2 separate regions of the Homo sapiens genome follow, and region 2 is linked to region 1. The links are contacts of gene promoters, found by promoter capture Hi-C in human tissues and cell types (Jung and others, 2019). All regions are on one chromosome and are shown on one strand. The core of a region is centred on a gene start or on the middle of the fragment in contact, and the rest is flanking DNA. Distances in the headings are between cores, read along the strand shown.

The links. Contacts are between HindIII fragments. The study calls those that stand out against the background at their distance.
Region 2: a fragment that was not itself captured here is called in contact with the fragment with the promoter of ANKRD1 in region 1 in 1 of the 25 tissues and cell types used here (bladder).

Annotation. Positions count from the first base shown.
Region 1 is chr10:90,919,291-90,927,174 of GRCh38, reverse strand. ANKRD1 (ankyrin repeat domain 1) reads left to right here and starts at 6,088. Exons shown (of 9, transcript NM_014391.3): 1 at 6,088-6,174; 2 at 6,827-7,006. The coding sequence starts at 6,148. It also overlaps the pseudogene RNU6-740P. RefSeq lists an enhancer at 999-1,885. The HindIII fragment of the contact is 6,615 bases long and covers 663-7,277 here.
Region 2 is chr10:91,385,972-91,393,855 of GRCh38, reverse strand. All of the region lies in intron 3 of HECTD2-AS1 (HECTD2 antisense RNA 1), which reads left to right. Among named protein-coding and RNA genes, the nearest start is that of HECTD2, 20 kb to the left of the region's middle. The HindIII fragment of the contact is 6,638 bases long and covers 1,482-7,884 here.

The sequences.
Region 1 (7,884 bases), core at 4,839-7,338:
TTCTTGAAATTTCTATCCATGTAACAGAGAGTGTGAAATTTTTATGTTTATCAAGTGGGAGAATGTCTTAAAGATAGTGGAAATATCCTGGGCTAGTGAAAGCTTTATGGACCGTTTCCTCTTTTAGAGGCATTGGAGAATCAACTTCACTGTCCGCACGTGATGCTGCAGTTATGAATGTTTATTTCTACCTTTTGATTCAGTGACTTTGAGACCTCAGTAAAACTTTAGGGCCCTAGAAATCATTTTGTTCTCAGCTCTCCTTTTATAACTTCAGGATTTGAGATGGTAAGAGGTGAGAGGACTTGCTCCAGTGAACACAGGGCAAAGCCAGGATTTAGAGGTAAGCCTCCTGATTCTTCATCCCATCCCCACCAGACCCACAAAACTACTGTCTCGCCTCACTCTTCTTGATTTGTGGCAGAAGAAGCATGTTATATTGTCTGTAGTTTTTGTTAAATACTTCAGTAAAACTGTGTGAATGCCGTGAGGGCAGAGTCGTGTGTCTCTTGAGAGCATAAGTATATCTCAGCTCTAGAAAAATGCCTGACACAAAGTAGAGCTAAATAAATATTAAATGAGTAGGCCAGGCACAGTGGCTCATGCCTGTGATCCCAGCACTTTGGGAGGTCAAGGCGGGAGGATCACTTGAGGCCAGGAGTTCAAGACCAGCCTGGCCAACATGGCAAAACCACATCTCTACCAAAAATACAAAAATTAGCTGGGCATGGTGGCATGCACCTGTAGTCCCAGCTGCTCAGGAGGCTGAGGCAAGAGAATTGCTTGAACCCGTGAGACAGAGGTTGCAGTGAGCCAAGATCGTGCCACCGTACTCCAGCCTGGACAACAGAGCAAGCCTCTGTCTCAAAACAATAAAATAAAATAAAATAAAATAAAATAAAATAAAATAAAATAAAAAATAAATGAGTAAATTGTATGTGTGTGTTTCCCATGGTCTTAGCATAGGCAAGAGTCTTCAACAATCAAAATTCTGAGACCAGAATAACAATAGCTTGACTGTCCACTACAACTTGGAGAAAATACACGTGTATTTAGATACATATTCATTTAATTCTACACCCTCGAGCAGTATTCTCAATGCTGGGAGGAAATTAGAATCAACTGGAAAACTTTAAAAAATACCAATTCCTTGGATCTTTGAGCAGAGATTTGGATTTCATGTGCCTGAGCTGAAGCCTGGGCATCAGCATTTTTTTAGAAGCTTCACAGAGGATTCTAAGATGCACCCAGCTTAGAGAATCACTGCTTGAAGAAATGTTAGTTCACACCTGAGAAGCCCTGACTCTGCGATTACAACTGTTGGGGTTAGTTAGCATTTGAAAGACACTAATGAGCTGCCCCCACTCCAGTGGAGGTAATCCCAAGTACTTTACCTATCTTTACCTTTGATAGTATTGACAGATTAATGGTTAATTAGCATGAGAAATGTTACCAATTATTTCTCATTGAAAGGAGAATTTGAAATATGTGGTTTGGTTAGAAAAGAATATGAGCCCTGCTGGGTCTCAGGTAAATATTTATTTAGCCCCACTATGTGTCAGGCACTTTTCTATGCAGTTGGAGTCCTAGGCTTATAGTGAGTGCTAGGACTCCATCCTATCTTGTGTTAGGCCATATGTGGAGGAGTCTGTAATCACCTTGAGTGGACTAGAAAATTAGCTGAAATATGCTGCCAGAATGTGGTTGTGGTTTCATTTGCTTCAAGTGAAACTTTTTCTTTTATTTTTTTTTAAATAAAAAAACATAGAGCCAGGATCTCGCTATGTTGTCTAGGCTGGTCTCGAACTCCTAGGGTCAAGTGATCCTCCTGCCTTGGCCTCGCAAAGTGCTGAGGTTACAGGCATGAGCCACCATGCCTAGTCAAGCGAATCTTTTGTGCTGGACACTGTCCAAGGGCCTAAATGGACAAAGGGCTGGGCTTCATGAGTTTACTGAATAGTGCATGTGGCCCTTTGTGCCTGTTGGCTGGTGTGAGTTCATATGTGTGGCAGAATTTGCACTGAGATACCTTATTTACTGTAACAAGGCACCTGCTGTAAGGTGTGGAGGTGAGACCTACAGCCTTCACCTACCTCTAACGTCAGGAGGCCACCGATATCCGTAAAAAGTAACCTACTGTGGGCAGCCCAACTGTGTTAGGGCAGTTTGTGCCCTTTCTATCCAGAGTCCTGGGCAGAAGGACTTTAGTCTTGATTCTGCCTTTCGAGAGGCAAGGAAGGCAGGTGCCACAATCCTGCTGAAAATGTTTCCAGTACTTTTCTGCTTTTCAAATACAGGTTATCCCATTCCTGGCAGGGGAGGGGAAACAACATTAAACCTTATTTGCTTCACTTTTATGACCTTCCTTTGGCATTTTCAAACACGTAACTGAGCCATGGCTTGCTGGTCAGGCTAAGTCAGCCACTTCTCTGGGCCAAGGAAGGTGCGTAACAGCTGGGACTGGGAAGGCTATTAAAAGGGATGGCAAAATGAGCAATTGTAAGTACAACAGTGGAACAAGGAGGTTTCCAAGTCAGAATCTGGCTACAGTCCTTGGAGCACTTCCTTTTAGTATCAAGTTGGGTGTTCTAAGGACAAGGAGTGTTAATAACAATAAAATTTTATGTGCTATAAAATGCCTTTTTAGAAAATAAAAATGCCCATTTTAAAAAAACAGCCTACATGTCCACAAATGAGAAAGTGGTTAAATAAGAAATGGTAGGTCCGTGCATGGAAATTCATGCAGTTGTTTCTAATAGCAAGATAGATTTGTTTGTGCAGATAGGAGACAATCTGTAAGACACGGTTACTGAGCGAAAAATAATCAAGTATCAAATCGACAGTAAGATCTGAACTAAATAACATTCTCTGTGCTATTTTTAACAATAATGTGTCTATTATATAGTTAAAATATAAGAATGAAAAGTTGGAGTAGAAGTAGAACGTCTGGAACTTCATATTTTATACAGAAAGATAAAACTGCCCTTGGACTTGGAGCTGAGCTATGGCACATGGATCTGGGTGGGGTCCAAGCGCCTCTTTTAATCCCTAGGTGACAGCAGTAATTGCTTTAGGTGCTACTTCTCTGCTTCTCACTTTCTCCAGCTATAACCATGGTCCTAATTCTAGTCACATGTCATTTCACCCATGGAAATGCATAAATCCTGAGGGGAGTGGGAAAAGGCTCATGGGGTGACACTGGAGAAGCTCAGGGATGCTTCCTTTACTCTTTCTGGTTGGAGATGGGTGATGCCAAGTTGCTTTATGATTGTAGAACCAACTAGGACCTTTATTGTTTTAATTCATCTTAGTAAGGATAGATTATGTCCAGATTGAGGCTATGATAAAGCCAAATACACAAATATAAGAATTTACACCACTGGGTGAACTTTTATGGGAAGGATGCTTCTGAAAAACAAATGACAGAAAACTCTCCGCCAGGGGAATTTTTTTCTCAATTTTGATGAATAAGAACGATTTGAAAATACAATGGTTGTTGTTTTTATCTTTTTAGAGAGCTAAAGGTGCCTAGAATCTCTTTTCAAAAAGCAGATTCTCTCATGTTTTTTTTCTTTATTTGTTGTCATATTCTTTTTACATCTTCTGACCACTTATCCTCAAGTTGTACCTCTCATGTTTTATAATGACAAGCTGGATCAACATGGGAAAAGGTTGAACTGGCAGTGATTTCACCAGCCCTGACATCCTTGCATCCACCAGCGTGCTCCTTTAAGTTCAGCCCATTCCATCAACTCATCTTCAAGTGTCATCCTCTGCAAAGTTTTCTTCAAGACTTCCTGGAGCCTCTCTATAGAATCAGCTAGGTTTCAAGGGATAATTAAATGCCTGGAGAAAGAAAAGGGCTTGGTAAGCCTCCCTGCCCACTTTCACTTGCATTCTTTGAGGTGATTGAAACAGTAAGGAGCCATTTAATCAGTTTTGGTTGCATCCTGAGTGGGTCTAGGTGAGACTTGCCCTAGGAAATCTTTTGGGCTCAATGATTGTCTGCTTCTGTTGGATGGAATCAGGACTCTTCAACCTAGCATTCACCAACTAGCTGTGCATCTGCAGCAAGTTACTTAATGTTTCTTTGCCTCAGCATCCTCTCTGTAAAATGAGAGCATTAGTCTTGCTCCAACTTCGAGGGCATGGACAGCTCTGGGATTTCATATCCAAGACCCTTAAACATCCCACAGTCCTTCCCCCAAACACTTCTCCTCCTAATACCTCCCTCAGTTTGGGTCAGGCCTGGAACAAAAAGGCATACGAAATGGTAGAAAAAGTGTCCATGACTACTTCTGACTTAGATGAAGAGACCAATGAAAATAGTAATGACTCTGTTTGCTTCAGCAGGACATATACTAAAATAGGAGCTATACAAAGAAGATTAGCATGGACTCTGTGCAAGAATGACACACAAATTTGTGAAACATTCCATATATTAAAAATAAATAAATAATAAAGAGAAAAGGAAAAAATTAAAAAGAAAATAGTGATAGCTGTGTCCATCTCAAAGAAAAGCCCAGGAGATTTCCTTTAATTAACCCCCTTTTAAGATAGAATATTAGGAGACCGGAACATATGATACAGGAGGTACTGGGAGGGTCCCTCTTTGTCAATGTTTTGTCTTGGGGTGGGGAGTCGATGTCTTCTCAAAGTTTCAGAAACACCATCCACTGACTGAGCATTCAAGGGGGAAGAGGAGAATGGCAGCCACATTTGTTGATTGGGTGAGTTTGGGGAGAAATAGACACACAAAGGTCAAACATAACTTCCTAATTAACACTTCCCTCCATTCACAATTCCCTTCTCCCATTCTTCTCTCCTTTCTTTTACTGAAAAAAACCCAGTTTTTCCTGAAACTATAAAAAGACCCCAGTATTTTTACATAATTTACACCTCAAAGATTAGAAACCAGAAATAGAGACCTTTTTCAACCCTTCCGGAAGCAAAGTGCATTATCCCTCCAGCCACGTGTCTCAAATCTTGATGCATCAGAATCATCTGGGTGCTTTGAAATTCAAGATGATTCCTACGAGTTACCATAAATCAACTCAGAATTCCCTGGAGTGGGGCCCAGGGATCTGTATTTCTGACAAGCTCCCACAGGTGATTCCTTTCCCCACAGCATTTGAGAACTTCAGCTCAATGACCTAATCAGAGTCCTGCCATTGCTAATAACTGGTCTCATTTTTTTCATATATATATATAGTATTTTTGGTAGAGATGGGATTTTGCCATGTTGCCCAGGCTAGTATTGAACTCCTAAGCTAAGCAATCTTCCTGTCTCTGCCTCCCAAAATGTTGGGATTACAGGTGTAAGCCACTGCACCCGGCTGATAGCTGGTTTCATTTACTCTATTTCTTGACCACTCTGATCCATTTTGAAGTAAAAATGCTCCAATTATTATGCTGTTTTAGAACACGGTAAGCATGTCATGTGCTAATTATGGCCAGTGACATCATAAAAGAAAAGTGCATTACTGAATGCTTTCAATTTCTTATAATGATGGTAAGGTGGCATGTCATGGGGCCTATTTAGCCCCAGACATCACTCCAAAGAATTCCAAACAGATATAGACAAGTGCCTTTAGGGCCCAGATCCCTTCCCCTCAGGCTGTTTACCCAGGGAATAGGATGTCCTGGGACAAGTTTCCCCTAAGTGAAGTGTTGATAAGTCTGCTTATCAGAAAGATATTACTGGGGGTGTGATATGTAGGGCATCTACATTTTCTTGATAGGTAGTCATATGAAAGCTGACAAAGAAAAAAAGGGCAGTGATGTGGTGCAATGTCAACAGACAGCTGTCCCCTGACTCTTGACAAATAGGATGACTTGCATTGCTGAGCGATGTGATCACCACCAAAGGAATGGCCCTCTCACATTTCTTCCTGATTCACATATTCAGCAGGGTTAGCTTGTCCTCCCCTCCCTCTTCAGCTTCCCAGACACTGAGTCTGGAATGAAAATTCACCTGCCTCTGAGTTGGCTCCTAATGGGGGTGGGAGTGTTACTTCGGTTCCCAGGTTGGAAGATTATCTCACCCGGCCCCAGCTATATAAGCTGACCGGTGTGGAGGGGCCCAGCAGGGCCAACTCCAGGGATTCCTTCCACGACAGAAAAACATACAAGACTCCTTCAGCCAACATGATGGTACTGAAAGTAGAGGAACTGGTATGTAAGATGCATTAATTTTATAAAATGAAAACTGGTTCATCTTGGTTTTTATTTGAAAATTGAAATGCCCTTTGCTTTCAGGTGTAATGCAAGGGAACTCTGAAAATGTCATATATGGAAAAAGGTTGATGTGATGAAACAAGTGAAATTGGAAAAAAAAAATGGAGCTACCAGTAATGAATTCTCTGCATATTTCCTATTTAATATCTTCTCCTTTGGTTTTATTACTACAGTGTGGAATCACGTGTAGTTATCAAAATGTCTTAGGGAAGAAGTGTTATTGAAAGAATGTAAGCCCGGAAACTTTACAATAAGGCGAAACTCATCAAAAGTACCTAAAGTTGAGTTTTAATTAAGCAGAGAAGGTTTTTGATTTTCCTAAAAGAAATGTGATTAAGCAGATTAAAAGTAGATTTAATCTGTCAACCTAACCCAAGCTTTGATTTAACCAAGAGAGTAGGACAAGCATCTGAAGGTAATTCTGGGACAATTGTAGCAGTGTGCATCGCAGCTTGAGATCTGAGAGTGCACTGCTCAAAGGTGGCTGTTCCCAGGGGAGAAGGACCAAGAGCCTCCTGCGGCATTGTCTGTGAAGAATGACCCAGGACGAGGCTGCTGCTTCTGACGCTGCCATCTTCTTCCCTCATAGGTCACTGGAAAGAAGAATGGCAATGGGGAGGCAGGGGAATTCCTTCCTGAGGATTTCAGAGATGGAGAGTATGAAGCTGCTGTTACTTTAGAGAAGCAGGAGGATCTGAAGACACTTCTAGCCCACCCTGTGACCCTGGGGGAGCAACAGTGGAAAAGCGAGAAACAACGAGAGGCAGAGGTGAGAGCCATCTGTGGAATCCACTAGTAGGATGTTGGGGCTGGGGTAGGGAATGGAAATGTCAGGGAAGGAGAAGAGAGAAACAAACCCAATCATTAAGATGTCTCTTTACCAGATTCTAACCCGTAAAGAGGCAACTTGTATGGAACAGGTTTTGGGAAATAACTCTTTGACAAGACTATGACCTCTGAATTCTGAATCAATGAATAAATGTGCTGTGACCATGTTTTGATTGAAAGATACACATGTCCAGTGAATTCCTGATGTTACACACCATGTAGTTAATCCCAAGCAACGGAGATCTCTTTTTCTCAATAACATGGTCTGTGGTCCATAGATCATTGTTTAACTGTCTGCTATCTGTGTTGACACAATCTGTGTTTCTGGGTGAATTTTCCTTAATTACTAACACAGATAAAATTTGCTTTAGTTAGCTGTGGTCCCTGGACAGTCTGTTTTAGAAGGCTCTGCTTAGTGAAAGAGAATGACATTGATATTTCAGAGCTTAACATTTATTGTTAGATTCTTTTTATCATGCTCAAAAATTAAACCAAGTTTTGAGCATAATTTTAAAAATCCTTTAAAAATCTAAGACTTGCTTATGGCATTAATTACAAAGTCATCACTTAGAGACCAGATCGTGTCCTCAATTGGTCAAGGGCTGATTCTACAAGCAACAGAAGTAAAGATGATGGCAATTAGCTGAAAATTAGACTCCCAGATAAATATCTGAATAAGAAATCCCTAAAATGAAGTCAAAGATTTATATAATTTTTAAAAAATGTTTTTGCTCAAACTGTTCACATGTTTATCTCAGACCTTGCAGATTTAGTTTAGACACAACCAGAATGCTTGTCAGTAGAACTCACCATATTTTT
Region 2 (7,884 bases), core at 3,551-6,050, 470 kb before region 1:
ATTTAATGAATTGTATGTTGATGGATTGAGTCATTTGTCCGTAGTACATCTGCCAGAGATAAATGCTTTTGAAAAAAATCCTACATTTTCTGCTTTTCTATCATAAGACATGATTTGATTGCAGCCACAGTGACACCAATTATATATTTTTTATCTGTTGAAGTGGAGAAAATGGGCTCTAAGTAATCATTACTTAGTGAAAATTGAACTGTCATCTCAAATTGTCAATACTCAGATTAGAAAATGTAAACAAAACTAAGTTCCTTTACTCTTCAACTCCACACAAGTGAAAATGCTGCATAAAATTTGATAGGCACAATTATCATCATTTTACCCTTTCAGATGTCAGCTCATTCTATTGATCTACATTCTGTTGATGTAATAGTTAAATATTAAAATTTAATGAATGCCAGTTAAAAATGGACCCCCAAAATGTATTGTTTATTAACCTGTATCTTAAAGGATTAGGCATAAAAAGATTTTATGAATGACAGTTCATGAATATTATTAATGTGAATTGAATTAATATTCATTTACTTGAAGCTGCTCATTATATCTGTGATTAACCTTTTACCTTCCTAAAGAGATGATGTTTTATAAGGAAAAGACACAAAGGAAAAGGGATTAAAATAATCTTAAAATAGTCTCATAAAGGGCTGGGCGCGGTGGCTCACACCTATAATCCCAGCACTTTGGGAGGCCGAGGTGGGTGGATAACTGAGGTCAGGAGTTCGAGACTGGCCTGACCAACATGGTGAAACCCCGTTTATACTAAAAATACAAAAATTAGCTGGGTGTGGTTGTGGGCACCTGTAATCTCAGCTACTAGGGAGGCTGAAGCAGGAGAATCGCTTGAACCCGGCAGGCAGAGGTTGCAGTGAGCTGAGACTGTGCCATTGCACTCCAGCCTGGGTGACAAGAGTGAGACTCCGTCTCAAAAAAAAAAAAAAAAAAAGTCTCGTAAAATTCCAACCTGCATTTTTTTTTTATTTTAATTTTTTTCGGAGACAGAGTCTCATCTGTCCAGGCTGAAGTACAGTGGTGTGATCTTGGCTCACTGCAACCTCTGCTTCCCAGGTTCAAGTAATTCTACTGCCTCAGCCTCCTGAGTAGCTAGAAATACAGGCACCTGCCACCATGCCCGGCTAATTTTTGTATTTTTAATAGAGATGGGGTTTCGCCCTGTTGGCCAGTCTGGTCTTAAACTCCCGATCTCAAGTGATCCGCCTGCCTCAGCCTCCCAAAGAGATGGGATTACAGGCATGAGCCACCATGCACCGCCCCAACCTGCCCTTTTAAAAGACCTTCATTCCATTAAATAAAATAATGTTATATGATTCTAAAACCCTTATCTGTGGCAATGAGTCTCTTCATGACTGTTTGAGGGAAAAATTCCACTGGTCAGTACAGTAGGCAGAATTTCTAAAATCATCCCCCAAGATGTTATATCCAACTACCCAGACCCTCTGCATGTGATGAGATTCAGTCCTGTGATGGTGTTGTATTATATGGCATAGTTAACCTTAAGATAGGGAGAATATCCAGGTGGGCCTCATCTAATCAGATAGGCCCTGAAAACAGGAATGCTTTCTGATGCTGCCAGCAGAAGTCAGAGAGATTCTTAGTGTGAGAAAGGCTCCCTGTGCCATTGCTGGCTTTGATGACAGAGAGAGCTATCTGAGAATGTAAGTGGCCCTAAGGAGCTAAAAGAGAGGCCCCTGGCTGACTGCCAGTCAGGAAACAGGGATCTCAGCCCCACAACTGCAAGGAACTGGATACTGCCAACAACCTGAATGAGCTTATAAGTGGGTTCTCTGTAGAGCCTCCAGATAAAAGCCCAGATGGCCCACACCTGGGCCTCAGCCTTGTGAGCCCCTAAGTAGAGAAACCGGTGAAGCCTACTCCTGACCCACAGAACTATGAGATCATGAATGTTTTTTTTTAATTAATCTACTTAATTTGTGATTTTTGACACCATAATAGAAAACTAATATAGTCAGGAAAATTATGAGCAAAACATTCACGGTAGAAGGGATCTCAGAGAGCTTCTAACCACTGGTGTCCTTGACAAAGAAGGACCCTAGACACAGTAGACAGTGTGAAACCCAAGCTATTTCAAAGCTCTAAAAAGCCTAAATTAAGTCACACAATTATTAATCAAATAGTGCTGTACAGACCTACTTAACCTTGATAGATGATAATCAAGTTTCTTTGTTTTTACCCTCACTAGAATGTAAGCACCACTTGGGCAGGGATGTTGACTCTTCTGTTCACAGTTATCCTTAATGTCAAGAACAGAACCTGATACCCAGTAGGCATTCAATAAACAAATACATAATTAGGGCCAAAATTATATCATCAGTATGATAAAAACACATTATTCAACTGTTAACAATTACTTATGCTTGAATTCATTAAAGAGATAATAATAAACTTTGAATGTGTAAATGCAGTTAGATTGGCCAAATCATTCAAAACATAGGCTTCATGGGTAGGAAAAAATAACAAAAGGGACATTAGTTATTAATTTGTGTTTTTTTTGAAAAACATTTTGTCCATTCCCCCTTCTAAAAATCCAGATGAGGAAACTGAAGCCAAGTGAGGTTAAGTAATAAATATGTAACTGTTAGCTAAATTGTGGTACTGGTTCTAAATGTTTGTGATAGAAAGCCGTTTAATCAAAATGAATCTGTCCACATTCGAAACTGATGGGTGCTGCTGATAAATCAACTGTGGGAAGAAAAAGTGAAAACAGACTAAAAAAAGCAGGCTTCAGAGCCACAGTTACTGGAACACAAACTCCATTCCATTTAGTTTAATTAAACCAAACTTAGCAAACATCTATGATGTGAGATATTAATAGACACTCTGGGTTATGAGGATGAACAGACATGCCCAGATCCTCCAGGATTTCCAGTCTAGGAGGGGAGCTAAGGCATGAACCCAGGTAAATGCAATACAAGGTAGAATGTGAAGGGTACTACTGGGGGGTACAAATAAAGAACTATGGGAGCAAAACTGGTGGAGAGCTTTTTTGTAGCTGGAAAGGTGGGGAAAAGTTTCACAGAGGAGGTGTCATCTGTTGCCCTGGAAATGGCACTGAGTGGAGTTTCCTCTAAAGTTTATTTACATTGTACAGAAGAAATGTCACATCAGAAACTTGTCCCTTGAGGCCAGGCATGATGGCTCATGCCTGTAATCCCAGCACTTTGGGAGGCTGAGGTGGGCGGATCACTTGAGGTCAGGAGTTTGAGACCAGCCTGGATAACATGGTGAAATCCTGTCTCTACTAAAAAATACAAAAATTAGCTGGGCATGGTGGCACGCACCGTAATCCCAGCTACTCAGGAGGCTGAGGCAGGACAATCGCTTGAACCTGGGAGGCAGTTTGCAGGGAGCCAAGATTGCCCACTGCACTTCACCCTGAGTGACAGAGTGAGACTCAGTCTCAAAAAAAAAAAAAAGAAAGAAACTTGCTCCTTGAATTCTTGTTTCATCACTGGTCTGAAATCTAAACAGAAGGAAAGCCAGCTGTAGAATTGCTATGTTCCAGAAATAAATATACAGAAACTTCTTAAATTGAAAGTTACACTCGATTTGTATTCTACTGAATTACAAGCACTCATAAATGTTTATTTCCTTGTAATTCATTTCTTTGTTAGATACAATGATGCTTAATTCCACCTTGTGGTTAACGTGGAGGATGGAGCATTCTGAGAATGTGAGAACATACAGCACTAATTTATTAGGATAGCTGCTTTCTGTCTGAGATGAATCCCATCTCCAATCCCATTTGTATTTTGTAGTTTTTTCTCTCCAGGCCAGGCAATTAATCCTTATGCTCTTTAGCACTCTGGCACTTAGCCTCTGTTTCAAGTGTTCTTTTTACATTTGTTGAATGTTTCCTCAAACTTAAATACCGAATTGACTAAAATGCATGGAAAAATACAAAGAATATGTGAGAAATATGTTATTTTTTAAAAAGTTACTTTCGTTATTCATCTGGAACTGCACCTGTGGTGTATAGTAATCTCGGTTACATTGCCCTCTAGTGGTGGTAGTACGGTAGTCATCTTATTAACATTTATTGAATATCTGCTGTGTAGGTAGGCTCTGAGGATATTGAGACAATTAAGAAACAGTTCCTACTCTTGTTGATTTCTCATTCTAGCAGAAGATGCATTTCAGCATAGCACGTGTGAAAAGGAACTGTGTAGGTAGGTAGTCATCTTTTCAGTAGTCATCTTATTAACATTTATTGAATATCTGCTGTGTAGGTAGGCTCTGAGGATATTGAGACAATTAAGAAACAGTTCCTACTCTTGTTGATTTCTCATTCTAGCAGAAGATGCATTTCAGCATAGCACGTGTGAAAAGGAACTATAGCAGGAGCACGTACAAAGGTCTATGAGTGCTCTGGGGAAGGAATAATTAATTCTCTCTAAGTGCATCCAGAAGGGCTTTTCAAACACATTACACTTCAGCAGCACCTTGGAAAGTGCATAGGAGTGTTTCAGGTATTCTGTCTTCAAGAGACCCATCTCACATGCAATGACATCCATAGGCTCAAAGTAAAGGGATGGAGAAAGATCTCTCAAGCAAACAGGAAAAAAAAAAAAAAAAAAGAAAGCCGGTGTTGCTTTTCTTATTTCAGAAAAAACAGACTTTAAAGGAACAATGATCAAAAAGACAAAGAAGGGAATTACATAATGGCAAAGGGTTCAATTAAACAAGAAGACTTGACTATCCTAAATATATATGCACCTGACATTGGAGCACCCATATTCATAAACAATTTTTAGGAACCTATGAAGGGACTTAGATAACTACACAGTAAGTGTGGGAGACTTGAACACCCCACTGACAGCATCAGACAGATCACCGAGGCAGGAAACTAAAAAAGATATTTGGCACCCAAACTCAACACTGGACCAAATGGACCTAACAGACATTTGCAGAACACTACCGCCAACAACAACAGAACATACATCGTTCTCATCCGCACATGGCACAGACCACACACTTGGCCACAAAGCAATTCTCAATAAATTCTAACTGAAATCATACCAACCATACTCTCAGACCACAGCAAAATAAAAATAGAAATCAATATTAAGAAACTGCTGAAAACCACACAATTACATGGAAATTAAACAATCTGCTCCTGAATGACTTTTAGGTAAACAATGAAATTAAGGCAGCCATCAAGAAATTATCTGAAATGAATGAAAACAGAGATATAACATATCAGAATCTCTGGGACACAGCTAAAGCAGTGTTGAGAGAGAAGTACAGTGCCTTCATCACTAAATGCCTACATCAAAAAGTCAGAAAGGTATCAAATTAACAACCTAATATCACAACTAGAGGAACTAGAAAAGCAAGAGCAAACTAACCCCAAAGCTAGCAGAAGAAAAAAACCAAAATCAGAGCTGAACTAAATTCAGATGTGAAAAACCATACAAAAGATCAGTGAACCCAAAAGTTGGGGTTTTGAAAGAATAAATAAGATTGATAGACCACTGGCTAGATTAATAAAAGATCCAAATAAACACAATTAGAAATGACAAAGGTGACATTACCATTGACCCCACAGAAATAAAAAAAAAATCCTCAGAGACTATTATGAACACCTCTATGCACACAAACTAGAAAAGCTAGAAGAAATAGATAAATTCCTGGAAACATACAACACCCACCCCCCGCCGCCCCAAGATAGAACCAGGAAGAAACTGAATCCCTGAACAGACTAATAATGAGTTCTGAAATTCAATCAGTAAGTAAAAAAAAAAAAAACCTACCAAACAGAAAAACTGCTGGACCAGATGGATTCACAGCTAAATTCTACCAGATGTATAAAGAAGAGCTGGTACCAAATCCTACTGAAACTATTACAAAAAATCGAAAAGGAGGGATTCCTTCATAACTCATTCTAGGAGGCCAGCATCATTCTGATACCAAAACCTCACAGAGACATAACCTATTTAACTATCACAATCCAGTTGATTTGTTGTATTTGCTTACATTGTGGGTGAGTGTCTTTTCTTTGTGCTGTAAAGAAGCTTGAGACTATTTCTGGCTTCTGGGAGTCCAGTCAACACCTGTGCAGACTCTTGGACTATGCTGAGCTCAGCCACCATTCAGCTGCATACCTTAGGCAGTTTCTTCTGATATATAAATATTTTTCAGGTGTGTGGAATAGGGGACGAGTGAAAGGGTGAGCGGAATAATCGTCTATGACTTAAGATCCTTCCCTCTGCAAAGGCAGCATCCTGTAGGGAAGCGAACATGGGTTCTGGAGGCAGACAAAGCTTAGGTCAAATCCTGGCTCTGCCACTCGCTGTGTGATATTGGAAGGTGTTTTGGTTTATCTGAATTCCAGTTTTCTTATCTGTAAAAAGGAGATACTAATACCTATCTCCAGGATTGCTGGAGGGATTAATAAAAGTATATAAAAAGCACCTGGCACAGCGAAAGTAATCTGTAAAGATTAATTACCTTCCCAAGTCCCCTTAATCACTGAAACAAGCTTAAGCTATACCAAACATCCACTTAAATATAGGTACAATGAAACAAATTTTATATGTGTTCCATTTTGCCAAAACTACCTAACATCTAGGAAGGGTCTTACGATCTGAAACTTGATCTCATCTGTCTCATCGCATTGGATCCTCACACAACCATGGGAGGGAGGGTATCTTAACATCTTTCACCCACCACTTACTGAGAGTCTGCTCTGTGCAAAATAAAATGGTGGGATTAAAGCACCCAATAGATGCCCTCCAGACACCCCACCCACCCCTAGTCAGGTAAGAAGAGGCAGATGATAAAACTAGCTACAATTCAGCTTAATAAATGCCATGGAACAGCTAAACAGAAGGTACTAATGGGGCACGGAGTAAGGACAACTAATTAAAGCTGCTCTTGAGGTAAAGTGGGCAGGTAAACGGAATCAGGCAGAATAAGTAAGAGTTTCTCTGGTGGGAGAAGGGAGGAAGGGTGCATGTTTTGGGGGTGATGAAAGTGAGCAAGTGAGGGAGAGAGCTGTGCAGACAACGGATGGAGTCGACCTTTCTGTGAAGAGAAATCCCAACTTCCTGAAGACAAAAAGTCCACATTTGTGATCAAATGAGTCTCTAGGTCATCACACTTTGGTCATTTATTTATGTGTATGATGGACATAGTGTTACGGAATGGGCTTTGTAGCCCAGGCAACTGGAGCTTCTTAGAAAAACTAAGTTACTTCTAACTGAAGTAACTGAGCCGTGCTCCAGTTAAGGCCTGAATCAAAATCATGAGTTAAATCAGCAGTGTTTCTAATTCTAATCAGACAAGCAATAATTGTTTTTGGAGTTATGGTGTCTATACAATTATTTCATATTTGCAGATATTCCTGTGATTTTTTTTCCTAAAGAAAACCATATGTGTTCCAGACTATTAAAACTGCCTTTAAAAAGTGGGGAAAGTTTCTTAGCTAACCATATGATATACTTATTCACTCTGTCTTTGCCCATTCCATCCATGCAACCTGCTCTTCGGCAGATGAGGCTGTCTTGGACTTACTCCCCATTTTCTCAGCTGAAAAGACAGCTCTCAAAAATCAGAATGCCAGTACAATACCCCCACCCTCTATCCTTGGCTTTGCTTTATGTGGTTTCGGTGACCTGAAATCGACTCTAGTCTGAAAATACTAGATAGAACACTTCAGAAATAACCAATTCATAAGTTTTTAACTGTGTGCCATTCTGAGTAGCGTGATAAAATCTTGTGCCATCCTGTTCTGTCCTGCTCTGATGGGAATCCTCCCTTTGTCCAGCATATCCACCCTGTCTATGTTACCTACCTGTTTGCCACTTAGTAGTTACCTTGATTGTTGCTGAATCA